7 separate regions of the Homo sapiens genome follow, and all the other regions are linked to region 7. Evidence: promoter capture Hi-C in 16 types of primary human blood cells and fetal thymus (Javierre and others, 2016). All regions are on one chromosome and are shown on one strand. The core of a region is centred on a gene start or on the middle of the fragment in contact, and the rest is flanking DNA. Distances in the headings are between cores, read along the strand shown. Region 1 has its middle 6.1 kb from the start of FAM9A. Region 2 has its middle 57 kb from the start of FAM9A. Region 3 overlaps WWC3 (WWC family member 3). Region 4 has its middle 39 kb from the start of FAM9A. Region 5 overlaps WWC3 (WWC family member 3). Region 6 has its middle 13 kb from the start of ANOS1. Region 7 holds the start of TBL1X (transducin beta like 1 X-linked).

Region 1 (3,934 bases), core at 1,423-3,922, 660 kb before region 7:
AGACAAAACCTATAATTTTCTAAAGGAATAGAATCAATACAAAAACAAAGGTGTTTCATACTGCTTACAGAAGATAAATGTATCCTGCAAGCTGAATGATGGCAGATCAGCTTGTGCTCTTCTAAATCATCTAAATATCATCAGTGCCTTTGATTACAGCCTCAGGCCCAGTGCTTAAAAAATCAAAGTTCGCTTTCAAGGAATGTCATTTAAAAACTGCTGATCATCTAAGCCTTGGGAGGTCAAGGACACTCTGATTTCCTTTATACTTACAAGTTTAATTTGATGTTTGCCAAAATAGACTTAGGTATAAATTTTACATCAAGATGCTAAGCAGAGCCCCACGCAAAATATTTATAACTGGGATTTGTTAAATATAAGATTATTTTTATGACTGGGACATTAGAGATGCATCCATCAATGAATTAAAAAAATAAATTTTAACAACTTTCTCTAGCATCAAGTTGAAACTCAAGTCTCAATAGAGCAAGTTTCAGGAACAGGTGGGATTTCAGGAAGTTTCAGGAACAGCAGCTCAGATTCTCTTCTTAAAGGGGGATTCCCTCTTGACATGAAGCCGGCAACTCACTCTGCATGCAGAACATGCAACATATTTCCATGCCGGGGAGAGAAGGATGTGACGTCATTCATTCATTCACTCATTCAGTCATTCCCTTATTCGTCTATCTAATAGCTGTCAAGACTCCTAGTATGTGTTGGGCATTGTACTACATGCTAAGTATATAGAATCTCTTTTCTAAACTCAAAAAGTTGTAAGTAGGTGGTAGTAGTGGTCAGGTTAAAACATTTGTGAAAAGAAGAAATTACAGTGACAAGTGCTACAATAGATAGTAAGTGATGTAGGATCCATAAGGAAGAAGGACAAATTATCTTTAGTGTTGACAGGGAAGATTTTACAACAGGAGAAATTATCTGAGATTAGTTTGGAAGGATAAGGACAAAAAGGTATTCCAGTAGAAAATGGGGACAAAAAGTAGAAAAATGGGGCACTTTAGTCTGGGAGTCATCAAAGGTGGGGTATACTTGGAAAGAGTAAATCTTTTGTAGAACTATAAGAGATTCCAGAGTCTGTGTGAGTTATAGTTTTAGGAGATAAAGTTGAAGATATTTGGGCACAATATCTTGGGGTATAAGCCAAGAGATAATATAGGTTTTATTTTTGCACGTCAGTGGTTCTCAATCAGGGGCAACTTTGTGCCCCCTCCCTGGGATATTTGGCCAGGTCTAGTTTTTGCTGTTACAACTGGGGAGGGGGGCAGGCTACTGGCATCTGGCAGGTGGAGACCAGGGATCCACTAAGCACCCTACACTGTACAAAGTCCCTACAGCAAAGACTCTGTCCCAAATGTCGACAGTGCTAGGGTGAGCAACCTTGCTCTAGATAATGGAGATTAACTGAAAGATTTTACACATGGAGAGAAGTAAAGGGGTACTTTCTAGGAAGGTGATGCGACATCTTCTAGGAGGTTTGCCACATCACGATGGTCATCACAACGCTGGGAGGCAATAAGACAAACAATATTCGTCTGCAGGGAGAAAGATCAACTAACTTCTTGAGCATCTACTCTGTGCTGGATATTCGATGTGTTGTATCAATCCCCCCATGATATTGGCAACTGCTACTTTCTGCAGCAGTGGGGACCGTCAGATGAAACAGGATGAGACTAGAGGCTGGGAGACTAGAGGCTGGGATACCATATAGATCAAAATTCACTCTCACATGGAAATAGTGGAGGTCTGGACTGTAGCAGTGTCTGTGGAGGTGGAGATCTGAGAGCAAAGAGGAAGGTCAAATCAAAAGGAATTTTTTACCAATTACATGTGAGAAGGGTTTAGCCACCAAATGGAAGGTTTACAGAATGACTTCGAGGTGGCTGGTTTGGAAGAGTGGGTAGCTGGAGAGACTGTAAAAGGAAGTCTCAGAGGACAGGTACAGGGCCACCCGCACTTGTGACCTTTGGGGTGCCCATGGGAGGTTCAGATGTAGATGCCTGGTAAGCAAAGGGAAAAATAAGTCTCCAGTTGTAAAGAGACCTCAAACAGATATGTGTTTAAGAGTTTGCAACATCACAATGGTCATCAAAACACTGGGTGTCATTAAGAGAAACAATATTTGCCTGCAGGGAGAAAGATCAACTAATTTATTGAGCATCTACTCTGTGCTGGACAGTCAATATGTTATCATCTCAGTCTCCCCATGATATTGGCAAGGAGACTGAATGCAGACAGGCCCAGGAAGGCGCTCAAAGTCAGGCAGCCAGTCAGAGGCAGAGCCAAGCTTGGAACCGTGTCTCACCAAAACCAATCCCCATCCATTCATTCTTTAAATAATATTTATAAAGTGAATTGCTGCGTGGAGAGGAGAAGCCACAGAACAGGTTGAGAAAGAAGACCCTGAGTTAGGAAAAGAAAAAGTGAAGAATGATGTCATCAAGTCCAAAGGAAGGAAGAACTTCAAGTAATAGTTTCAGTTATCCATTGTAAAAAGACTCAGAGTCAGACCAGAGGATGTTTCTGCCATAAATTGCTATCCAAATGATATCAAGTCATGCACACACACACAGAGTTTATATCAGAGTTAGAATGTGTACACTGCATTAGACACTGAGCATCATCAGGGTCTTGCTGGAGTGCCAGGGGCAAAAAACAGACCATAATTTGTAGAAAAGTACTTAGAGTTTGAGGAAGTAGAGCCAGGAAGAACAGAAGGAAGGTAGGGTGGTTGCTAAAGGGAAAATATTTTACAGATGAAGATTCAGACTTGAGCATAGATGTAGGCTGAAGGACTTGAGTGGAAACACCAAAGTTTGAGTATGTAGGAGAGAGGGTCTAAATGAGAGAATGAAGGAGTTGGCCTTGGAGTGGAGAAGGGTCCACTGTTCCTCTAAAATAGTGGTCTTCAATCTTCTTGGGCCCATAGACTCTCTTGAGAATCTCGTGAACGTTTTAGATGTCTCTCCAGAAAAACAACTGTAAACATTCTCAAAACTGGGTATGATCTTAGGGAGTGCTTGCTAAAATCTCCTAAGCTTAAAATTTAACAGGCTGTCCTTGAGAGTGAAGAGGTGCTATTAATGTTATTATAAAGGACAACAGGCTCCATTGAAGCTTCAAGCAATCCCAGACTGGTGAATTGGAAGTGGCTGGAGAATGTGATGAGCTGGATTTCCTCTGTGCTGGCATTGATTATCAAGTTATTTTTATTGATTATTATTACTAATCAATTTATAATTGATTTGATATTAATTTGGTATTAATAATTATCAATAATAAATAATATTATAATCAATAATCTATAATTATTGTGATTAATAATCAATAATTATTATTGATTATTATTGACTGAATCACAGTAAGAGTTCCCCTGAAGTTCCCCTGAAAAGAACAGTTTGCATTTGTTAGGAAAGAGGTGCTCTGGAAATTGATTTCTTTCAAACAATTGGCTCCTGTGAAATCCTTGCAATATCCTTGTGTAAAGCCAGGGTTATGTGGATGACCTCTGAAAGCCATTGATGTGGAAATTCCTAATGTAGAAAAGGTATCAGAGATGTTTCTGGAAATGTTTACACCTGGAATAGCAATTTGGTATATCCCGGGGGAAGTATCCAGAGCGAGGAAATCAACAGGAGCCCAAAGTTTTGCATTCTATTTATTGAGTAAAAATGTATAGATTGCTAGCCACATGACAAGACCTGCTCCAAGTGCTTTATGAACGAATTTATTAAATCCTCATCTTAAGTCTACTAGGTAGGTACTGCCATTATCCCCATTTTACAGAGAGGGCTATAGAGGCACAGTGAGATAGCAGGGTTGATCTTAGTTTGGGTCAGAGGGTAGATTTGGAACCAGGCTGTCTGTTTCCAGAGTCTGGCCTCCCACTTCTACTCTATATTGAGAAAGTTTACATATTATA
Region 2 (3,788 bases), core at 132-2,631, 610 kb before region 7:
GTAGTCATTCATCTTGTCCATGTCCTGCATGTCCTCATCATCCTCTAAGTCCTCTTCACTATCCTCATTGTCTTCATCATCCTCCTCTTCCTCATCATCATAGTGCTCTGAGGCTGGCTTGCCAATAGGAACCAGATTGTTGTCTTTCTCTGTGATGCTTTCGAGCCAGGTCTGATGCTGCTGTTCCTGCTGCTGCAGCTCTGTCTCTCCCATACAAGGTCGATCCAGATTAAACCACAGTGTCTCAGTCCCACAAAGGAAGAGTGAGGGAAACAAAGTGGACATGGTTCCTAGACTGGGTTTGAGTCCTGGCTCCACTACTTACTAGCTGTTTGACCTTGGCCGAGTCACTTAACCTCTCTGGGCCTCAGTGTCCTCCTCGCACCAGGGTCTGCAGCCAGTGGAGACCCGGAAGCGCTTCACCAAGCCTGAGTGGAAGAACCCACCAGAATCCGGGACTCACCCCCAAGCAGTTTTATGTGATCATCTAATCCTGTTATTCTGATTTTGAAAAAGAGAGACAACTCAGCAGAGCCGTTAATGTCAAAGCTTTTGCTTATTTCAATATATTAATCTAATGGGAAATGCTCTAGAAAGTTGTAGATATTCATGTCCCTGCAAACAGTTGCATCACATCTAAGATCTTTCTCAGGGGACGAACGTGAATTTCTTATTAAAGTATTTCCTCTTGAAACCCAGAGGGTAAAAGTTCTATATATTTGGATACATAGATTTTAAAAAGTGTTGGTATTCTCCCTTAAACCTCACAAAAGTCCTACAGAGTAGCTACCTTTCATTACCTTATTAGAGATAAGAAAATTGAGACTTGAACATTTAGTGAGTTTTCCAAAGGCTAACAGTTCAAATTGCAGATCCAGGCCCGAAAACACTGGCAAGATTCACTTCACTCTACCCTGCTGAAGCTGTTACCCAACAGAAGGATTAGAAGATCTAACCCCACCCAAATGATTTCTTAGCTTCCTTCTCAGAGGTAAGTATGGAGAGTAACACTCAAGTTGATTAGGAAATTTAAGATGCGCTTTATGTAATTTTCCTTTGGAAGGCTACCTTTTCCCAGCCTCACAAACATGAGAAGATTATTTGATAGGTTATGCTGGGTGAATATGGGACTTGTGTCTGAAATGGCTTTGTTCCTTTCTCAGAAGGTAACATAGTGCATTGCATGAAATAGACATTTGATAATACAGGTTATGTGGACAAATTTTTGTAGCTGAACCTCTATTTACAGGATGTGTTGACGATTGTTGAGTGTCCTTCTATGGACTCCTAGCTGTACAGTGCTAACAAATAAAATTTGTCCATCTAATCCATTTAGTTTAGCAAGTGATCAATGGAATGAAAAAAGTCAAACTGATTGACTAATTTTACTAAGTAACCAAACTACTTCTCTTTTCAGTTCAGCAACCTGTCAGTTCACTTTAACCCTTTGGCTCCTGAGTGATGCAGACATGAGTCTCTGCTCTACAGACAAGGACTTAGTCTAATAGCCCACTCCGCTTTAGGGCCCAGGCTTGCGATGGAAAAACAGCAATTTGCCCTCCTTCGGACATTTTGATAAATCATAAACATATTCATCCCCAAACCTCGAAATTATTGCTGGAATTTTTTTTAAGCTAGCAACACAAAATTCGAGTTCTACATTCATCAAATTCAAGGCACAAAACCTCATAGAATTATAAAGTCCACCCAATCAATGGAATTCAGAGCTAAGAATTCAGCCACTAAATGGCATGATTGCTGTAATTAGTCGAATGGTATAATTATAGTAAACACATGATAAGTTGCCACTGAAGCACATAATTGCACAGTATAATGGTATTATTATGATTTCTGATGATATAATATGATTTGGATGTATAACAAATTCCCATAACAATATTAAAACATTTTTCATTTGTGCATTTTCTTAGTACCTGATTTGGATTTTTTACATTATGGGAGTTTAAGTCAAAGACAGGAAATCAGACCACGTTTTCAACGAAAGAAAAAGAAGTTATTATTCAACATAATACCTTGTTGAGAATGTGGTTAGAAAGAGATAAAGGACTTAAAGTATGAAGTCAGTCATTAGGATAACCCTAAACAGGTATTATGGTTATAATTCAAGAAAACACCTTTACAAACATGAATGTTATTTCATATCTATTCTATGTTCCAGGAATTAATCATTTTACTTTGAGGTTACCATGAAAATAAGCTTTCCCAGGTCACAACACTGTCCACACTATCTTTGTTTTTTGTTTGTTTGTTTTGAGATGGAGTTTCGCTCTTGTTGCCCAGTCTGGAGTGCAATGGTGCTATCGTGGCTCACTGCAACCTCCGCCTCCCTGGTTCAAGCGATTCTCCTGCCTCCGCCTCCCGAGTAGCTAGGATTACAGGCACCCACCATCACACCCAGCTAATATTTTTTATTTTTAGTAGAGATGGGGTTTCACCATGTTGGCCAGGCTGGTCTTGAGCTCCAGACCTCAGATGAGCCACCTGCCTCGGCCTCCCAAAGTGCTGGGATTACAGATGTGAGCCACTGTGCCCAGCCTATCTTTGGTTTTAACTTCCCTAGGAGAAGACAATGTTTTCAAGCCATGTGCACATTGGTTATATATGTATTGTTGTCCCAAATTCTTTTTAGATGTAGATTTTGTATGATCAAAAACATTTTTATTTCATAGAATTTGGGAATTGGAAGAATTCTTAGAGAGTTGAGATGCATAGTTCAGGAATTCATGGACTTATTTCATTGAAGGTGCTAGGTGTATAAGTGGAAGTACATTCTTCTTGGAAAGGGATTTTTATCATGGTCATTAGTGGAGCTGTGAAGCCAGAAAGGTCTACCTGGGAGATTCTACCATCCGTCTCTACTGGGGCTGAAATCTTCTCCACAAATGCCCATCAGGTCTTTATTCCACTTCAGCTTCAACCTTCATAGTAAGGAGGCTCTAACTAATCTGTACAGTAGAAACCATGAGTTCTCTGCCTACCAACCTGCTAATACAGTTTAACTTTCTTTTTTAAACAATGAAGCATAATGTTTCTTTCTATTAAGGCTACAGTTCACAAAACCTCCTAGCCACACATTGTTTAACAGAACTTCCCATGATAATGGAAAATTCTCTACCTGCACTGTTCAGTGAAGTAGCCACTAGCCATATGTGGCTGTGGAGCACTTGAAATGTGGATGATGCATCTTAGGGACTGAATCTTTTATTTAACTTAATGGTAATTAATTTATATTTAAATTTAAATAACCATAAGGGTGGTTACCATATTGAACAGCACAGCCCTGCACATTGTTTTTCTAGGCAGGTTCCTCTTCAACACTATTTTACTCACTTATGGCACTGTACATTACATTTTATCAATTTACACATGCAGTATTATATTATCACCTAAGCAAATATACAGCATTAAGCATCATAAAAGTTCAATAAATATTAATGGTTATCAATAAATGGAATCATTACAGACAATGAAATAGCACGACAAAATATAAGAGGTAATTAGAATCAGTCTTGCTTTTATTGACAAAGACAGTCCATGGAACTGGGAGCCATGATCACATCATGGTATAGGTTTTCACGATTTCCAATTATTTTGATGAATTTCACACTTGATATTTATCTAAAGTTAATTCAAGATTTTCTTATTTGAACTTTCCCTGCCATGAATATTGATGGGTTTTACTGTAGTGTGAATTTCCAAGTGTCTTTCTTTTCTTGTACCCTGAAGATTCAGATTTTAGGATGCATTGTTTATTGCTTAATTTCATT
Region 3 (3,627 bases), core at 105-2,604, 630 kb after region 7:
GAGTTGAGTTTCACTGTTCTTTTGACAGACATATCACTTTTTAGAGCATGAGTCCCCACGCTTTTTCTGTGAAGGGCCAGATAGTAAATATAGTCACTATTTTAGGCTTTGCAGGTAGTTCTGCTGGAACTGCCCCACCCTGTCATTGTAGTGTACATGCAGCCATAACAGAGATGCCTTGCAAGCATGTAAGACTGGGGCCTCGAGCTGCTCAAACGTTCACTTACGGAACAGCCAGTGGGCTGGATTTGGCCCCAGGGCCATAGTTACTGATTCCTGCCTTAGACCACTGATTTCCAAAGGCTTTATAGCTGTGCCACCTTGGGTGTTACTTTATTGCTGTTTCTTACTCTTCTAAAAGAATGTCAGGAAATTGAATTGAACTAAAAGTCATTTTTGTTTGAGACTTGGAAGAATGTCATAATGCCTCCTTTGTTAATTAGCGAAGCCTTGAGTTAGCCACAAAAACAAAGTTGGGAAAATCACCATTTGAAGCAGGATGGTGGATATTCAAAGACGCTAGTATTGTAATATCATTGAGTGAAGCTTGACATTAATTTGTTACCAAATGGAAAAACAGTTTAAAGAGCTTCTTTTTTTTTTTTTAAGGATTATTAAGTAAAGATGAGGTATCAATGGAATGCACAGTGCCACCCCTCCCCCGAAATTAAATAAATAAAAGGAAAGCAACAAAAGGAGGAAAAAACAATTGATGGAAAACTCTGGGTTTTAAATAATTAGCTAATTAATATTTTGAAATCTTAGCAACTAGTGCCTCTTCGAGTGGAGTATAATGTAGGAAATCACGGCCCTTTATGTCTTGGGTGTCCTGGAACAGTCCTATTTTCAAATTTGCCTGCGTTGTTCCAAACGTACACTTGGCCGTTTTTGACTAGGCATCTTCTTTGGATGAAAGAATATGGTCGCCATCTGTAACACACAGAGGAGAATCTGTAATTCAAAAATGTTTGGCATTTTTGCGTAAAGATTTTGGAGCGAGAGAAGGAAACAAGTGTAAGACTCATTGAATTCGTGAATAATTCATTGCTGCTTATTGTAAGGTTAGAATTAGAATTTAGTTTGAGAGAAACAGTTAAGATAGAAGGTTCTCCAGTGATTTAGGTCAACCCTTCTAAAAATGTCAGGTGAGGAGTGGTGGCTGGTTATGCTACTTGAGCAGTCACTGCTCATTGTTGATAAGCTCCTGAAGTTTACCGGGGCTGACCCTAGGTCAGCAATCTCATAGCTGTTATCTCAGTTTAAGTAGTTGTTCCCATCCTGTGTGATGTGCAGGAGACCGAGATGCCAGGTTACCTAAGGTCTTGTAGCTGAGGAGAGGCAGGTCTGGTTTTGAAACATTTCTCATCCCTAAACCCCTGTACTTTCTAAGAAACCACATCATGTTATAGAAAAATAGATCAAAAGGCTATGACTGTATTAGCTAACCATTGCTGCATAACAGATTTCCCCAAAACCTAGCCTCTTACAACAACACTCCTTTATTATCTCATGCTTGATGTGGTCCAGGAGACTGGGCTGGGTCTTCTGCTCCAGGGTCTCTCAGGAACTTCCCTGCAATCAAGGTGTCAGCCAGGACTGTGGTCTCATCCAAAAGCTCACCTGGGGGAGGGGCCACTCTTAAGCTCATGTGATTGTTGGCAGGATTCAGTTCCTCACAGGTTGCTGGACTGAGGGCTTCAGTTCCTTGCCACATGGGCTGCTCCAGCACGGCAGCCTGCTTCGTCAAAGTGTACCAGCTGAGAGTCTGCTAGCAAGATGGAAGTCACAGTCTTTTGTAACCTATTCACAGAAATGACTTCCCATCACCTTTGTTCTGTTCTATTGGTTAGAGTCAAGTTATAGACCCAGTTTATTCTCAGGGGGAGGGAATTTCACACGGGGAGAATCCCAGGAGGTGTTGGTCATTAGGGGCCTTCTTAGAAGTCTGCCTACCTCACTTTGTGCTTGTGTTGAGTCTGTTTTGTGGGGTGGATATTGCTGTATGTCAGATGTGCTTTTTGAGACTGGAGATTTGCAGCCACAGGGTTGCACACGCTGTAGCGCTGCATAGGAACTCTGAAGCAGGAGTCTCTTGGATCCATTTGGCTGTCTTTTCTTTTCACTAAAATGTCCATTTAATTCTCAAAGAAGAGTACAGAAACAAAGCTTAGAGAGAGGTGCATACAGCTTTGAGAAGAGGTTTGAGAGATGATGTTTACTGATCTTGATGAGTTGATTGCAGGGTCACTAATAAAGAGGGGACTGAAATGGCAAGTAGCTCATCTCCACTGTGGACAGCTTTTGGAGCTGTGGCACTGCCACTTAAATATATTTATACTGAGGAAGCTGGAGAGGAGCATTGGATGAGGCCGTTTAAACATGTATAATTGTGGCCAGGCACAGTGGCTCATGCTTGTAATCCTAGCACTTTGGGAGGCTGAGGTGGCCAGAGGTGGCCAGATTGCTTGAGCCCATGAGTTGAAGACCAGTCTGGGCAACATGGCTGGGCAACCACCTGGGCGTGGTGGCTCATGCCTGTAGTCCCAGCTACTTGGGAGGCTGAGGCAGGAGGATCGCTTGAGCCCAAGGGGTTGAGGCTGCAGTGAGCTGTGATTGTGCCACTGCACTCTAGTCTGAGCAATAGTGCGAGACCCTGTCTCAAAAAAAGAAACCATGAACAATTGTCATTCTGGTTGGAGAATGCTCAGTCCCTTGTAAGGCACTTTTTCATCTTGCCATTCAAGGCAATAAATTTGCGAAGACATTTTTCATCAACATAGATCAAAACTCGTGTCGATAAATTCACTGCTAATCATTCAAGTTGAATATTTTCAGATACTTGTTGATGGGAAGTTATTTCAAAAATGTAAAGACTTGGTGGCCATAATATGTGATCTAGTAAGGTCAGATCAACAGATGGAGCTGATTTATTGAAACTGGAGTTGTGTGAATATTTGCAGGAATGAGGAATTAACCAAAATGTACTACAGTTACTTCCTGTACATGTCTTTTTTTGTTTTGTGTAGGATTTTATTGTCATCAATGTAACTGGTACAAAAATATTTAAGTATATCTACTCGTCACAGAGCACCGCATTTAGGCTAACTCTATATTGGTACTCCCCGAGCTCTGGCTTTTTGAGACCTTGCTTGCTTTCCTTTTGCCCTTGGTTCTTTTTTTTTTTTTTTTTTTGAGACGGAGTCTTGCTCTGTCGCCCAGGCTGAAGTGCAGTGGCTCAGTCTCGGCTCACTGCAAGCTCCGCCTCCTGGGTTCATGCCATTCTCCTGCCTCAGCCTCCCGAGTAGCTGCGACTACAGGCGCCTGCCACTACGCCCGACTAATTTTTTGTATTTTTAGTAGAGGCGGGGTTTCACCGTGTTAGCCAGGATGGTCTCGATCTCCTGACCTCGTAATCCGCCCGCCTCAGACTCCCAAAGTGCTGGGATTACAGGCGTGAGCCACCGCGCCTGGCTTGCCCTTGGTTCTTTAACACACCTCGTGGCATCAGAAGGCGTCCACCAGCCCATCCGTCACACAGCTAGTCCAGCTTCCTCAGACCGTGGAGCTTCTGAGTAGAACATCATTATTTTACGTTTACTGAGGAATTAGAGAATGTACTGCACAAAA
Region 4 (3,963 bases), core at 511-3,010, 620 kb before region 7:
AACAAAAAATATATATATATAATAAAGGCATTCTCTAAATTCTAAATGTTTGTTCAGTGCCATAGAGTAATAATATAGTTCTTCAGTTGTCTTGCACTGTAATGTAAAAGAACAGAGGCCAATTTAATACATAAGTAATGGCTATGCACCAACAGAAGGCTAATGATGTCATTATGTAATGTACAAATGAAGACTTTGCAGCAACTTTAATAGGACAAGCCAGACTAGGCTTCAGTCATCTCAGCAGATGGAGTGATATGGGCATGCCGACCTGGCAGCACCCTGCACCTGTCTCCCTGCAGCAAGCAGAAGTCCTGCCGGATCTGATCCTTACTCATGCAAGCCTTCATTGGCAGAAAGTGTAGTCATTTCAAAAGCACATGGAAAAACACTTCCTTAAATTAAGATTTTTAATTTGTTAATTTATCTCACGGTGACCTCTTACATTGATTATGCCTTCAAATACTACATTGATGATTGAGTTCATTCACCGTTCAGAAAGAAAATGTAATCATGGCAGAGACTACCGTTCAAATGATGGTTCATGATGCTCAAAGTCAAAGCCAAGTCAATGGCAGTACAACTGTAATCACGAAAAATCATCTTCTTACTCCCCAACCCAATTGTGGCAACTTCATCACTTGAAATTAATGTTGTCAGCTTTATTTAATTTTATGGGTTATGCACCCTCTAAATACACAAAATTGTTTTAAATTTAAGCCTAACACACTATTATAAACTCGTTAATAAAATTTTAAAAAATTTACGCACTTTAGAATTTGGTTTATGCTTAATTTGGATGTTTACTTTTATGGCTTATATAGGTTAGAAACATATGGCACACACATAAAATATACCTACCTACTTATATATTTATACACATTTAAATATAGTGCTGTTAAAAGATAATTTTCGGAAAGGGTAAAATCATGACTGCGTACATATATAAAAGTTAACATGTGTTCATGACTTTATTTGAGTCATTAATGAATGAGGGAACCAGACAGATGTTAGAACCCTTTCACCAGAAAAGTCAAAACAGCACAAACGTACCTGGAACAAAATAATTGAATCACAAAATGGCAGCAAAGCTGGCTTTTCCAAAGGTGGAGAGGGAAGTCAATAGAACCTGTCTGGCCAAGGCAGAGTTTGCACACCTACTTGTACTTGCAATTTATAAGAGATGCAAAGATTCAGGGCTGCATCCCACTGCTTGGAAAGGGACGCTTAGTGGCAATGCTTAGGTGTTCACCTAATTTTTCTCTACAATAAAAGTAATTGAATGCTGGACTGAAGTTCAATGAGGAAATTCTTTTTTAAACTTCAAATGAGATCCATACATTATTCAAGTATGAATAATTTAATCCCAAGCACCTAAAGAAGACTGCTTAAATATGAATATTTCTCAGATGAGTTCTTTCTGATAAGACATTATATGTATTTGTTGTACCATTACTTTTTTCTGAGATGGGGGTCTGGCTCTGTCACCCAGGCTGTAGTTCAGTGACATGATCATAGCTCACTGCAGCCTCCAACTCCTGGTCTCAAGTGATTCTGCCACTGTAGCCTCCCAAGTAGCTGGGACCAGGCATGCGCCACCATGCCCAGCTATTTTAAAAATATATATTGAATTTATACATTCATATATGTAGATATGTATACATATGCACATGTACATGATTATAAGGGACAGTCCTGCCTGTAGGGAAAATGAGAGAAAACAATCAGCCTGAGAAGTCAGGGGTTGAAAGGAAAATGCATTTCTAACCATAAGCAGAGAGGAAACCCACACAGAACTGAGAGGTTTAAATTTCATGGCAGCCTGGCCAGCACGTGATCAGAGAGATTTGCATCACATATGCAAATGCAATAAAAATAGGTGTCAGTATTGATTATCTTTCATCTGAAGAATTCAGTAGTCACATTTCTCAATAGCAGGTGCTGAGAACTTTTATGCCTGCACTCTGTTGGGTGAACAATTTAGTCACTTGACCAAGTCATGGTACCTATAGAAATGCAATAATCCCCGCTTAAATTTTCTTATAATGAGGTGGGATGGATAGTCTATTGTTACATTTTTTAAGCTGCATAATGTAAATAATATTATTTTTGGTCCTGTAAAATTTTTTGAAGGATTTTCAATGAAAATGAAAATGACTCTCTGAAGACTGGGGAAATTGTTGAAAGGCAGGATTTTCTTACTTTTGGCCTCTTGCTCAATTCAGCTGAAAATCACAGCTTGTCTTCTGAAATAGCCAGTGCCATTTGAAATACTCAGTTGAAATGGTGTTCGATTGTAATGTGCTTAAATGATTGAAAAAGTGAATTTAAGCAGGTTTAAGTAGATGGAGGCTTTCAATAAGTGTTGTAGTCATTTATTCAAAGTATTTCACTTAAGGAGGTAATAGCTGACTCATTCATATAACTAATATACCTCGTGTAAAATAATGTATGCTATTTGCGAATTTGAGTTATAAAAAATGCTTTCATGTTTCTAGTGCATAGCCCGTAAAGCCAGGTATGTGGAAATTTACAGTCCAGTTTTCCTCATAGGAATCAGCTCCTGCCGCTATCAAACAGATATTTCTTCTTCCATTTTCTTTGGTTCTTATGGAGTCATAGTAAATAGCCTTTAAACTAAATATGCTACCCCATGGAGCCCCATCCACCACACCAATATTGAAGAAAAAATGATACAGCTCATTAAAACAGTGGTATTTTCTGTAAAATGGGAATAACGGTAGTATTTCCAAAAGATTATTAGATTCTAGAACTTCATTACACTCCACTGACCCAACAAGGAGCTACATTTTTATGCCAATTATTTAATGAAAGGGTCATAAAAGAATGTTCAATTGTCTGGAAATATGTCCCAATCTCCCTCCAGAAAATTAGTATTTTGTTGTTGTTCAATGAAGTGAAAGTTAGGGAATAACTTGCTGAGGGGCTTCACTAGAAAGCCAGTAAGGCATTTTCACTACAGACTAGAGCCAATTCCATCAACTGTTAACAGGCGCCCATAAAATGCCAGATGTAGAGCAGTCCAAATTTGTTTATTTGTAGCATTAGCATGCATTCTTTCAATATGCAGAAATCCTCTTTATGGCCATATGCACAGGTGTGTCTACCGTGTGTTTAAAAGAGTGACAGTATTTCTCCCTATCACAAGGTCAAAAACCTCTTTCCAAAGCCAACCCGCACAAACACTGGCTGTTTCACTGTTGTGTATAGTGGCTTTCACCGCCTGCTGTTCTGGCTCCACACTGGGGCTTTGGAGGCCTTTAGTTCATACAAGACGCATTGTGGTTTGTGGTCAGCAGAATAATAGCTCCAAATATGTCCAGGTCCTAATTCCTGGAACCTAGGAATACACTAGGTTACATGACCAAAGGGACTTTGCAGACGTGGTTAAATTAAGGATCTTGAGATGGGGGGATTATCCTGGATTATTGGATGGGCCCAAATTAATCACGTGAGCCCTTAAAAAGCAGAGAACCTTTCCTAGCTGGGGTCACAAAGATGCAGCAGAAGAGAGTCAGAGAGATGAAAGATGAAAAGGACACACCTTACCGTTGCTGGCTTTGAAGATGGAAGGGACCATGAGCCAGGGAATGAGTGTGGCCTCTAGAAGCTGAGAATGACCGGGTCTGATAGTCAATAAGGAGACGGAGGCCTCAGACCTCATCAAAGAACTGAATTCTGCTACCCACTTGCACAAGCCTGAAAATGAATTCTTCTCTAGAGTCTTTAGAAAAGAGCTTAGCTCAGCCAATACATTGATTTTACTGAGATCCACATCAAACTCCTCTCTTACAGAACTGTGAGACAATATATGTGAGATAATACATGTGTTATGTACAAGTGCTACATTTGTAGTAATTATTTATAACAGCAATAGGCCACTGATTCTCAGCATAGCTCTCAACATCCCCTGCACCCCGTTAATTCTGAGACATTATTCTT
Region 5 (3,638 bases), core at 723-3,222, 610 kb after region 7:
AATTCCCACTTCTTTCTTCATGGGTAATGACTTGAAGTGAAAGGAACCGATATCCAATGAGCTGGTGTTTTCTGTGCATTGTTGTGATCACAGTGTTGTCAAGCACGTGCTGTTTTCTTTATTGTTCACATGAGAAACTGAATATCAGGGAGGCTAAATTATTTCTTCAGGATTACATACCCAGCAGATGGTAGAAGTTGGATTTAAGCCCAGATCTGTTTGTGTTGGTGGCCTTCAGTGCTCTGTACGGTTTCCTAGACATGGAAGAGGCCACTCAGAACAGCTGATGGTGTTTGTGGAACCCCTCCCCCATCCAACTTTCAGGTTATCTGAAAATAAAGACTAGTTATAAATTGACAAGTTGTCGGGAAATTTTGCAGCAATAAAGGGGGCAAGTGGAAGGCAGAGCACTTTCTAGATCTTGACTTTTCCATGGCCCATGTAAGATCACTAAACTGTTCATTTATTTTTCGACAGTTAGCACCTGCTGTTGATATATACTAAATGGCGGGAACATGTTTTTTTTGTTGTTTGTTTGTTTTGTTTTGTTTTGTTTTTCGAGACGGAGTCTCGCTCTGTCCCCAAGCTGGAGTGCAGTGGCGCGATCTTGGCTCACTGCAGCCTCTGTGTCCCGGGTTAAAGCAATTCTCCTGCCTCAGCCTCCTGAGCAGCTGGGACTACTGGCGCATGCCACCATGCCCAGCTAATTTTTGTATTTTTAGTAACAGGGTTTCACCATGTTGGCCAGGATGGTCCCTATCTCTTGACCTCGTGATCTGCCTGCCTCAGCCTCCCAAAGTGCTGGGATTACAGGCGTGAGCCACTGCGCCCAGCCGGGAACACGTTTTATTCCTAATGGTTGCTTGTTGGGAAAGATGAGGCAATAATGTGTGAACAGAGGAATTAACTGGAACAGCCATTTCTAATGTGGGAGCAGAAGGTAGGGAGGAGAAGTGCATCTCACCTATACCCCTCACACATTTCCCTCGAGCTATGGAAATCACCAGAAGAAAACTTCATGCATTGGAGAGGAAAGATTTTGTGTCAGTATTGGGCCATCTGGTATCTAAGAACATCCGTGCCTTGACCTGAAAGCAAATTCAGATATTTGGCTGGATGCTTTGCACACTTGTCTGCATGAGAGTAGGAACCCAACCCTGCTTGATTTCAATGAGCTTCTGTGCTAGCTGCCTGGTGATGCCCAGGCCTCATTTATGCTTCGTAGAACACTGGGGTGAAACTGCTCAACAATGGACTCATTCTCTCTGAGACACACCTGCTACTTTTTCTACAGCTCCATTTTGTAGAGTTTTCTTCTACTTTCTTTATTGCAACATGTTCTTCTATTTGCCTGCCTTTTAACACTGAATACGTTCATTATCTCAGACACATTTTTTCCTGGAGTTATTCCTTTATTCTTCCTGAGAAACTCTAGCCCCAGGCACATTCAGATGAACTATATATGACCATTTGCAGGATCTTTTGGAAGAAATTCTTGCATGGGGTAGGATAATAGTCTAAACCTCAGGTCTGCAAACTATGTCAAGCCTGTGGGCTGGATCCTATCCACTGTGGGTGTTTGTAAATAAAGTTTTATTGGAACACAGCCATGTCCATTTAGTAACCTATTGTCTGTAGCAGCTACAGTGGCAGAATTGAGTATTTGAGACAGATTGTATGGCCCACAAAGTCAAAAATATTTAGGGTCTGGCCCATTAGAGAAAAAGTTTGCTAATTCCTGGTCTATACCCATAGTTCTCAGACCTGGCTGCAAGCTAGAATCTTTAAAAACTTGCTGCTTGGACCTCACCCCAAGAGATTTTGATAGAACTGGCCTTGGGTGGGACCAGGCTTTTTTTTTTAAGCTTCCCAGGTGATCCCCAGGGTTGAAATCCACTGGGCTAGACAGAGTGTGAATGGCCCTTGTAGCAGCAGGAATATGACTTTGTTTATTATCCTAGTTCCTAGGAGTTACTCAAAGTCTACATTGAAAGTCTTTCTGGGTGGCTAGGAAAGAGGCAGCGTTATCTCTGGTGAGAAAGTGCTGATCCACCCTGAGTTCTTGGATTAGGTGGTGGTGAAGCTTGACCTTATCAGCCATCAGCCTTGCCAGCATTCCTTCTGAGGCTCCAAGCCTGTCTCACAATGACTCTTCCATTGGTGCTCTGTTTTTTTTTTTTTGTTTTTTTGTTTTTTTGTTGTTGTTGTTGTTGAGACAGGATCTTGCTCTGTTGCCCAGGCTGGAGTGTGGTAGTGTGATCTTGGCTCACTGCAGCCTCAACCTCCCGGGCTCAGGCGATTCTCCTACCTCAGCCTCTTGAGTAGCTGAAACTCCAGATGTGCGCCACCATACCTAGCTAATTTTGGTACTTTTTGTAGAGATGGGGTTTTGCCATGTTGCCCAGGCTGGTCTCAGACTCCTGGACTCAAGAGATCTGCCCGCCTCTACCTCCCAAAGTGCTGGGATTACAGATATGAGCCACCGCACCCGGCCTCATTGGGGCTCTCGCTGTTGAAGGATTTCTCATTTGCTGTCTTTGGTTAGGAACAGGGCTACAGGCAATCCATTCCAATTCAACCTTTTGTTTTCCTTCACACACGCATGTTGGAGCAGGCAGGAGAAAAAAGGATCATGGAGCATTTTTCCCATGTATTAGTCAGCAAGCCAGATTTTGGAGGTTGCAGCAAAGCACATGTGTTTCCTGAGAAATAATCCCCTAGTCTGTCCTGGAGGGAGAATTCCTGGTTAGGATTTGGTGGCTTCTTGGGTTACTTCTGTAGATCACCCCCAGGTGGCCTTACTTGATTGTTTTTGGTCTTTTGCTTATATTGCCTTAAAAAAAACCCATCCTGCCCGCTTTGTTGGCCTTGCGTATTTCTCCATGTGCCTCTCTGGTAGATAGTACCTGTCAACCTGGAACCTGTCAGGGCTTGTCGGCCTTTTGCCCAGAGTCATTCTTGGCTCCCTTGAGCAACTCCTGACAGTGCTGATCCCTGGAGGCCTACACCTGGTCCTAAGGAGCAACCTGCTCCAGAGGATGTCTTTGAAGAAGGACTGCTGGTCTTTTAAAGCATGTCTTGTCTCTGGGGTGACCTTAGGTACCCATAGCTCAGAAGACGCCTGTACATAAGAGAGACAAAGACAAACAGACTCATGGACACACACATTTCCCCTTTCAGTAATCTGTCAAACTGAAATCCAGAGTTAAGTACTGGGGTTTGCAGCATTTTGAGTCCTAAATACACAGGTCAAGTTCACCTGTTGGGTGGTGGGCACTGGGGAGCTGGAGGACCGTTTCTTCTTCTGGGAAAGCTAGCCCAATTAAAGGATCTTTGGCAGCTGACCCACCGGAGCCCAGATTCTAGACATGAAGCCCTCTATGAATGATGGCATAATGTATTATAGATCAAGTCACTACAGACTCAGTCTTTTAATCTATAAAATGGGCAAGGACACATAAGTATCATTTCACCTTCACAAAGATTTTATGAGAATAGATTAAATAAATGTGAAAGGCACCCTGTAATAGCAAGGTATAATAATTTACATTGCTGTGGTCCAGCTAGGCTATAACCTTGTTATTATATTATCTGAGGCAATGTTGTATGCCTGAGCAGACTCCATATGCTATTTAATA
Region 6 (3,624 bases), core at 348-2,847, 720 kb before region 7:
TCCTGAGTATTTTCTTCATGCTGTTCATTTTTATTATGTTCGCCACGCCTTATCAAGTCTTTGTTTACATGTCCATGTCCATCTCCACTTCTTATGGCTGATGGCTATTTCTGATAGGCGCTCAACAAATTATTTGCCTGGAACTGGAAATACTCGACACTCCTCAATTTGCGGCCTCTTTTTTTCTTACAACTTCTTAATTGTTGTATTCAATATGTAATTTTTACTCTAGGTGTTCAGAAGTATGATATAAGAATTTACGAATAGCATAAACGTTATCTGAAATTATGGAGGCCTAAACCCAAAATTCATCAGACCACATTCTCTCTGCTTCCCAGAATGTATTAGTAGTTTGGCTGATTTAATGCTGGCTGTCCTGGTTACACTTGCCAGCAGGGGGCACCAAAGGGCTACCCTGGGAGAAAGCCCCAGAACTTGCTTCCAAAGTCAGAGTTGACACTGGAGCCTGAAGTTCCCTCATAGACAAGACACCTTCGAAGACAAAGCTTAAGATGGCAATAATGAATTATCCTCCAGCAAAGCCTGAAGAGGACCAGCGAAGCAAGGAAGGAAATCCTCAAACCATTACCTGAGAGACAAATCAGGTGTCAGATCAAAGATGAATTTAGTATTAGAGAGATACTTCTTAAGTAAAGCACAAAATGCATTAACTAAAAAAAGATAGAGAGGCCGGGCGCAGTGGCTCACATCTGTAATCTCAGCACTTTGGGAGGCCGAGGCGGGAGGATTGCCTGAGGTCAGGAGTTCGAGACCAGTCTGGCGAACATGGTGAAACCCCGTCTCTACTAAAAATACAAAAAAAAAAAAAAAAAAAAAAAAAAAAAAAAAATTAGCCGGGCATGGTGGCGTGTGCCTGTAATCCCAGCTATCCAGGAAGCTGAGGCAGGGGAATTGCTTGAACCAGGGAGGTGGAGGTTGTAGTGAGCCGAGATCATGCCACTGCACTCCAGCCTGGTGACAGAGCAAGACTCCATCAAAAAAACAAAACAAAACAAAACAAACAAACAAACAAAAAACAGAGAGAGAGAAAATTTCAATCCACTTGGTCATGTTAAAATTAAGGCATATTGTTTACCAAAGACATCTTAAAGAAAGAAAAGAGACTAATTACAATGTGGTAGAAAATGCCTTCACAATACACACCAGACAAAGTGTTGGAATAAAGAATATGGAATTAATTCCTACACATGAAAAGAAAAGAGCACAAACAGAACAAAAAAAAAAAAGAGAAAATCTTATAAACAGGCATGGACAGAGGAAGAAACGTGTTTCTAAAAGACATGTTTAGCATCATTGGTGATTGGAAAAAATATAAAATAAGCCCACACTCTCTGTTATTTTTTACTTTGGCAACAATTTAATAAAAGTCTGACCATGCTAATTCAGCTGCAATTTAGAAGTCTGACCATGCTAACTTCTTTGAAAGTGTATGGCTCTACAGCATCTTTTATTTTTAAGATATTAGAGATGGGGTATTACTATTGCCCGTGCTGGTCTCAAACTCCTGGATTCAAGCGATCTTCCTGTCTCAGCCTTCTGAGTAGCTGGGACTACAGGCATGAACCGCTGCACCTGGCTTCAAAGCATCTTTGATACTTTGCTGGTGCGAGTATCGATTAATGCAATGACTCTGGAAAAGAGTCGGACATCACCACCAAAAAACCAACCACCCGCATAGATGACGATCCCTCATTTTCACTCCTGGTGCAACCCAACTGAAGCTACCGCATATATATTATCAAAGTCTTGACCAAGCAACTTTACAGCAGCACAGCTCACGTTATCAAAATCCTGAAACCAATAAAGTGTCCATCGATAGGACAACAGCTGCATAAACTCTTGCACATTCACATACTGAAATATTGTACAGCTGTTAAAATTAACTACAGAAATGCATATGTTAAACAAAAACCTTAACAGTATGTGAAAAAAATGCCAACAGACTACACATGGTAAGATATACTATCTCTTTATAAAGTTAAAGGTAACTAGAATAAAAAAAATACTTATTAGTAGCAAATATATGCAATAGGGCAGGCGCCATGGCTCATGCCTGTAATCCCAGCACTTTGGGAGGCCAAGGTGGGTGGATCACTTGAGGTCAGGAGTTCGAGACCAGCCTGGCCAACATGGCAAAACCCTGTCTACAAAAATAGAAAAATTAGCCGGGCATGGTGGCATGCACTGTAGTACCAACTACTCAGGAGGCTGAGGCAGGAGAATAGCTTAAACCCAGGAGGCAAAGGTTGCAGTGAGCAGAGATCGTGCCACTGCACCCCAGGCTGGGTGACAGAGGGAGACTCTGTCTCAAAAAAAAAAAAAAAACACAAGTATATGCAATAAATTTATATAAAAGGGGAAGAAGCGATCATCGTAGACATAGATTATAAGATAATAGTGGGTAAAACAGGAGGATTTGTTGATTGTATAAGGCCTAGCTTTTGTTAGTGGCAGTGGGATTTTCTGGTGTCCATTACGCTATTAACAATACCTAATTAAATAGTTAGCTAAATAAGTAAAATGGGCTATACCTGGAACAATGTTGCAAATGTCACGGACCAGGAGTTACAATTTATCTAACTCAGTGTACCTGAAAATTAAAAATATAATGAAGTCAAAATAACAGTGCCAGACACTGCATGGTCACTTAAGCAGCAACACAGGGTCCTAAGCTTCTGTTGCAATATTAAATGCATCATTTGTTAAAAGAATGGGTCAGAAAGCAATGGTTTGTTTGTTTGTTTGTTTTGTATTCTTTCTGGATGGAAAGTCAGAGAAGAATAAGGCTTAGTAATTGAGTGTTTTTCTTAGGAATAATAAGGAACCAAAAGATAGTGTTCAGATGACTGAAAAGTGTTAGCCTTGGGGATAAAATAGCCCTAGACTTTTGTAGAGCTGTCTCAAGTACCTAGTGAAACAATATGTCACTGTCAGAAAAAATGAGAAGGTAAAGAGTCCAAGACAGGGAACTGACACATGAGGAGAAGATGAGAACTCCGTGGTTTAAACAACCCATGCTTGCAATGACACTGGTCTTCTTTTTTTATTATTATTTTTATTTTTCCATAAGTTATTGGGGTACAGGTTGTATTTGGTTACATGAGTAAGTTCTTCAGTGGTGATTAGTGGGATTTTGGTGCACCCATCACCTGAGCAGTGTACACTGCACCATATTTGTAGTTTTTTTGTCTCTCGTCCCCCTCCCGCTCTTCTCCCCAAGTCTCCAATCTTTGGCATGGGTGCGATGAACAGGGAACACTTCTACACTGCTGGTGGGAATGTAAACTAATACAGTCGCTATGGAAAACAGTGTGGAGATTCCTTAAAAAACTAAAAGTAGAACTACCATTTGATCCAGCAATCCTGCTACTGGATATCTACCCAGAGGAAAAGAAGTCATTATTCGAAAAAGATGTTTGCACACACATGTTTATAGCAGCACCATTCACAATTGCAAAATTGTGGAACCAACCCAAATCAATCAACAAGTAGATAAAGAAACTGTGATATATATATGATGGAATACTATGCAGCCATAAAAAGCAATGAATTAACAGCATTTGCAGTGCCCTGGATGAGATTGGAGACTATTATTCTAAGTGA
Region 7 (3,870 bases), core at 617-3,116:
AGCACTCCCACCAGCAGGCGGTGGGGGAAGGGAAGCACGTGTAGCCAGGGCAGGGTTGCATCATGAGCTCGTTCGGGTTTTCTATTGCACCCTTCGTTTTTCTATTGCATGTAATACCTCAGCATCAGTCTGCACAAGCCCAGGGAGCCCAGGAGCAACGAAGGGCAGGCTCAAGGGAAGGCCCCACCATGTCCTTCTGGGGGGCCTTGAATGGCAACTGATACATAATAAGACACAATCTATTCTGCTGATTCACAATTATGGAGACTGTGTAAGTGTGTATTTTTTTATTGATGTCCTCTAATGATGGTGTAGCAACAGTCGTTTTGCATCATTGACGTTTTACAGCAATATTTTGCAGGGTAATTTTGAGGTCCGCCGTTTTGGTGGAGGACCGGCCTCTTAAAAACTCACCTCCGGCCGGGCACGGTGGCTCACGCCTGTAATCCCAGCACTTTGGGAGGCCGAGGCCGGCGGATTGCCTGAGGTCAGGAGTTCAGACCAGTCTGGCCAATATGGTGAAACCCCGTCTCTACTAAAAATACAAAAAAAATTAGCTGGGCGTGGTGGCATGCGCCTGTAATCCCAGCTACTCGGGAGGCTGAGGCAGGGGAATTGCTTGAACCAGGGTGGTGGAGGTTGCAATGAGCCGACAGCGCGCCACTGCACTCCAGCTTGGGCGACAGAGCGAGACTCCTCAGAAAAACAAAAACAAAAACAAAAAAACAAAAACCTCACCTTAGGTCCCCCTCCCCCTACAACCAGAACAACAAATGGTCTAGAGTTCGAGGAAGAGCAAGTGAGGTTATAGTTTAGATTGCTGAGTGTACCGGGCTCTTAGCACGAAGCTCATTATATAGTAAAGGAAGGGGCAAGAATATTTGAAAAATATTCAACGAGGCTGACCCCAGAGGTGCTGGGGAGGGGGAGTGGAGATCTGTTTAACTGAATTAAGGCTGCGAGTGGTTGGGAGTAGCCTACGTGGAGGGGAGGAAGGAGCGCTGGGGACTTAGGTACACCGGGGCCAGGCCGTGTAAGCCATTGCAACATAAAGCACTTTGCAAGGGCCAGAGGGCTGATGCCTGGGGGGTTGGGGTGGGAGTGATGAGGCCCGAGTGCCCAGGTCCCCCCAACCTCCTCAGCCCCCACACCCGAGTTCCTGGCGCCTATGCCTGTGTGTCTGAGTTTGTCCCTAAGCATTTCTGGCTCTTCTTGGGAGGTGTTTTGCAAAGGTCGAGGCTCCGCCGGAACCCCCACTTTTTGAGCTGGGGTAAAGACTACTGGGGTGTCTTCTAAGACGCCGATTTTGAGGGAGATTCACCATCGGGCAGGTGGCAGGGGGTTCTGTTGGGGCAGCCGGGTGGCTTCCTTTTTGGGGTGGGGGAGGGTAACACTTTAGCAGTGATCGAGGTTCCCCTGCCCCCTAGAAACTGAGGGGGTGGCCGAGGTTCCCGTCCCCTCGAGGCAGTCGTGGAAAGGCTGGGTTTGGGATGTGATGGGGGTAGCCCTGGGGTCCTCTCAGTCCCACGGAGGCCACGGGGAAGGGACCGGGACCAGAGCAACTAGGGAGAGGCCCGGGTTCCCCTCACCCACCCTAGGCGTGGGGGAGCGGGGCGGGCTTGGTAGGGACGCTGGTCCCCCGACCGTGGGACAGGGGCTGGGTTGGGACGCGGGTCCCCACTAGGAGCCGCGGGGGAGGGGCAGGGCCGGAGTCCCTACCCTCGTAGGGGAGGGGCTGGTTCGGGACGCGGCTCCCCCGGGGCGCAGGGGCGGGGCCGGGTGGTACGCCGGGTCCCCTCCCACGGCCGTGAGGGAGGGGCCGGCGGCGGGGGCGGACCCCTGGCGGTCCTCCTGGCTGGGGTCCGCGCGCTCGCGGCAGCTCCCCGTGGAGGTCACTGTCCGTGCCAGTCCCTCCCGCTGTCCCGCCCTCTCCCGCTGCCGCCGCCGCCGCCGCCGCGCCCGCCTCAGCGCCCCCACTCCGCGCTTGGGAGCGAGGAGCCGCCAGCGCCCCCGCCCCGCCGCCGCCGCAGCGCCCTCAGGCCGCCATTCGCCACCGAAACTTTCCAGCGCCCGCGCTCTCTCCGGGACTCGGCGGCGGCGGGGCGGGGGCGGCCCGGGGGCGGCGCGCGGCTGCTCCGGGGCGCCGGGCCCTCTTCGGCCGCCGCACGGCCGGGACTCGGAGGCTGCCGGCTGGAGGGAGGTTCGGAGCGCGGCCGGGCGCGCGGCGCCGCCACAAGTTGCGCTGCTCGCGACGAGGTGAGTGCGCAGGGCTCGGCGGGCCGGGCGCGGGGTCCGCAAACTTCTGCGGGGAGGCGGGTCCCGCGCTGACCCTCCAGGGTCCGGCCGGCGGCTCGGGGCGCCCGAACGCTCCACCCGCCCCTGGAACTCCTGTAGGTGCAGGTCGCCAACTGTCCCCGCGGCGCTCGGACTGGGGTGCGGCGCGCTCCCAGGAGCCTGAACAATACCCCGAGGTGGCCGCTCCCCGAAGTGCCGGCGCGCCTTGCGGGGAGAGACGGAGGTCGGCGGGGGGCTCCTTTGTTTTGGGGAGGGGGAAGTGGCCGGTAAGTTTAGGGAAGCGCTCGGCTTTTCCTCCGGTGCCCCTTTGTCTGCCGATTCAGGGGCTTGCTGGGCAAACCTGCGCCACCGCGGGCTCCGGGGACCGGGGTGGAGGGCGGTGGCGGGATTTCCCCGCTGTTGGGGAGAAGAGCCCCATTCATACCCGGGACGCGGGCCGGCCCTCCCGGACCCGGGTGGAAGCGCAGCCTCGCGGAGTGGGGCAAGCGGCGGGCGAGGTGGCGCGGGCCCCGTGTCTGCTCAGTTTCTGACGCGCAGAAACTGTCAAGGAAGTCGGGAGCCCCAGTCCTCCGCCCATCTCCCCGGCCTGAGCGCACGGCTGGGCTGGGGGCACCCTTGGCCCGTCGAGGGTCTGCAGAGCGCCGCCCGGGGAGAGCGCAGACCTGTTGCTGCTCCTGGGCTCTGACGGGGCGGGTGGGGTGGGTCTCGCAGATCCTGGGCCCCGGCCTTGCTATCCAGGGGGACCTTCCCTAACGATGGGACCGGTGCTCGGAGTGGAGTATGGGGAGTGCGCCTTCGGGAGTCGGCGCTGGCCGGATATGTGACAACTGTGGGTCGCTGGAGGCCCGCCTGCGCTGGGATAGGGCCTGGACTTCACGTGCGTCGCCTGTGTTCCGTCAGACCGGGGCCGGGGCTCGCTCCCTGCAAGGCCTCGTGTTCCCCCAGCCAGCTGCGTTGGACGTTCCACAAAGGTAGGGACTGACGTTTATTCTCGAGTCAGTGATGTTCTGGAGCAAAACCTAAAAAGAAACAAAAACCTACCCTCTATTGTATTTGCAACTGTTTCTGCTTTGCATTGTCATGTGTGGTTTGACCTGCCTTTTGGATGTTTTCCTCTCCTGAAACATCGCCCAGTCCCTGGTTTAACCTGGAAGGCGAGGGGGAAGGAAGGCAACCTCCCTGCTAAGGTTCCAGGCAGTGGCTTTGGTGTTGGAAGTGGCACTTGACGATTTTATGAAAAGTTTACAAGTCCTTCCTAGAAAAGATGTAATTAGGAAAAATAAAATACAGAAGAACGTTGAGTATGACGCGTTTATTTTAAAGGGTAGTCCTGTCTCAAATGTGCTGCACATTTTTGTGGAAAGCCACCAAGCTGGGTAACTAATGCAAACAACAAAAGTTGTTCATCACTGGATCACCGGCCCTTAAGGCGATTCCAGCCCTTAGTAGAACACACACCTGTAGGGCAAATATGGAGATTTGTGGTGTAGTGCTGCCACCCTCGCTCCCCAACTCTCAGGCATTTTGCCCCTTTACCTCAGAGAACTTCTCTCTGTCAGTGGTTTTAAAGAGGAA

The links. Contacts are between HindIII fragments. The CHiCAGO score rates a contact against its expected background, and 5 or more counts as called.
Region 1: a fragment that was not itself captured here is called in contact with the fragment with the promoter of TBL1X in region 7 in 1 of 17 cell types (total CD4 T cells); the score reaches 5.4 in total CD4 T cells.
Region 2: a contact is called between a fragment that was not itself captured here and the fragment with the promoter of TBL1X in region 7, in 7 of 17 cell types (neutrophils, non-activated CD4 T cells, total B cells and 4 more). The highest score is 8.3, in neutrophils.
Region 3: a fragment that was not itself captured here is called in contact with the fragment with the promoter of TBL1X in region 7 in 6 of 17 cell types (non-activated CD4 T cells, naive CD4 T cells, activated CD4 T cells and 3 more); the score reaches 10.0 in non-activated CD4 T cells.
Region 4: a contact is called between a fragment that was not itself captured here and the fragment with the promoter of TBL1X in region 7, in 2 of 17 cell types (naive B cells and total B cells). The highest score is 5.5, in naive B cells.
Region 5: a fragment that was not itself captured here is called in contact with the fragment with the promoter of TBL1X in region 7 in 1 of 17 cell types (total CD8 T cells); the score reaches 6.2 in total CD8 T cells.
Region 6: a fragment that was not itself captured here is called in contact with the fragment with the promoter of TBL1X in region 7 in 5 of 17 cell types (naive CD8 T cells, naive B cells, activated CD4 T cells and 2 more); the score reaches 8.5 in naive CD8 T cells.

Annotation. Positions count from the first base shown.
Region 1 is chrX:8,805,539-8,809,472 of GRCh38, forward strand. No RefSeq gene overlaps it. Among named protein-coding and RNA genes, the nearest start is that of FAM9A, 6.1 kb to the left of the region's middle. The HindIII fragment of the contact is 751 bases long and covers 2,298-3,048 here.
Region 2 is chrX:8,856,742-8,860,529 of GRCh38, forward strand. It overlaps the pseudogene ANAPC15P1. Among named protein-coding and RNA genes, the nearest start is that of FAM9A, 57 kb to the left of the region's middle. The HindIII fragment of the contact is 1,669 bases long and covers 548-2,216 here.
Region 3 is chrX:10,094,515-10,098,141 of GRCh38, forward strand. The region is part of intron 8 of WWC3 (WWC family member 3); the gene reads left to right. Among named protein-coding and RNA genes, the nearest start is that of CLCN4, 61 kb to the right of the region's middle. The HindIII fragment of the contact is 1,620 bases long and covers 545-2,164 here.
Region 4 is chrX:8,838,835-8,842,797 of GRCh38, forward strand. No RefSeq gene overlaps it. Among named protein-coding and RNA genes, the nearest start is that of FAM9A, 39 kb to the left of the region's middle. The HindIII fragment of the contact is 7,511 bases long and covers 1-3,963 here.
Region 5 is chrX:10,071,813-10,075,450 of GRCh38, forward strand. All of the region lies in intron 4 of WWC3 (WWC family member 3), which reads left to right. Among named protein-coding and RNA genes, the nearest start is that of WWC3, 58 kb to the left of the region's middle. The HindIII fragment of the contact is 218 bases long and covers 1,864-2,081 here.
Region 6 is chrX:8,742,931-8,746,554 of GRCh38, forward strand. No RefSeq gene overlaps it. Among named protein-coding and RNA genes, the nearest start is that of ANOS1, 13 kb to the left of the region's middle. The HindIII fragment of the contact is 2,187 bases long and covers 505-2,691 here.
Region 7 is chrX:9,463,192-9,467,061 of GRCh38, forward strand. TBL1X (transducin beta like 1 X-linked) reads left to right here and starts at 1,867. Exons shown (of 18, transcript NM_005647.4): 1 at 1,867-2,256. RefSeq lists enhancers at 1-92, 467-1,295, 1,123-1,322 and silencers at 1,553-2,132, 2,253-2,392, 2,693-2,842. The HindIII fragment of the contact is 11,363 bases long and covers 1-3,870 here.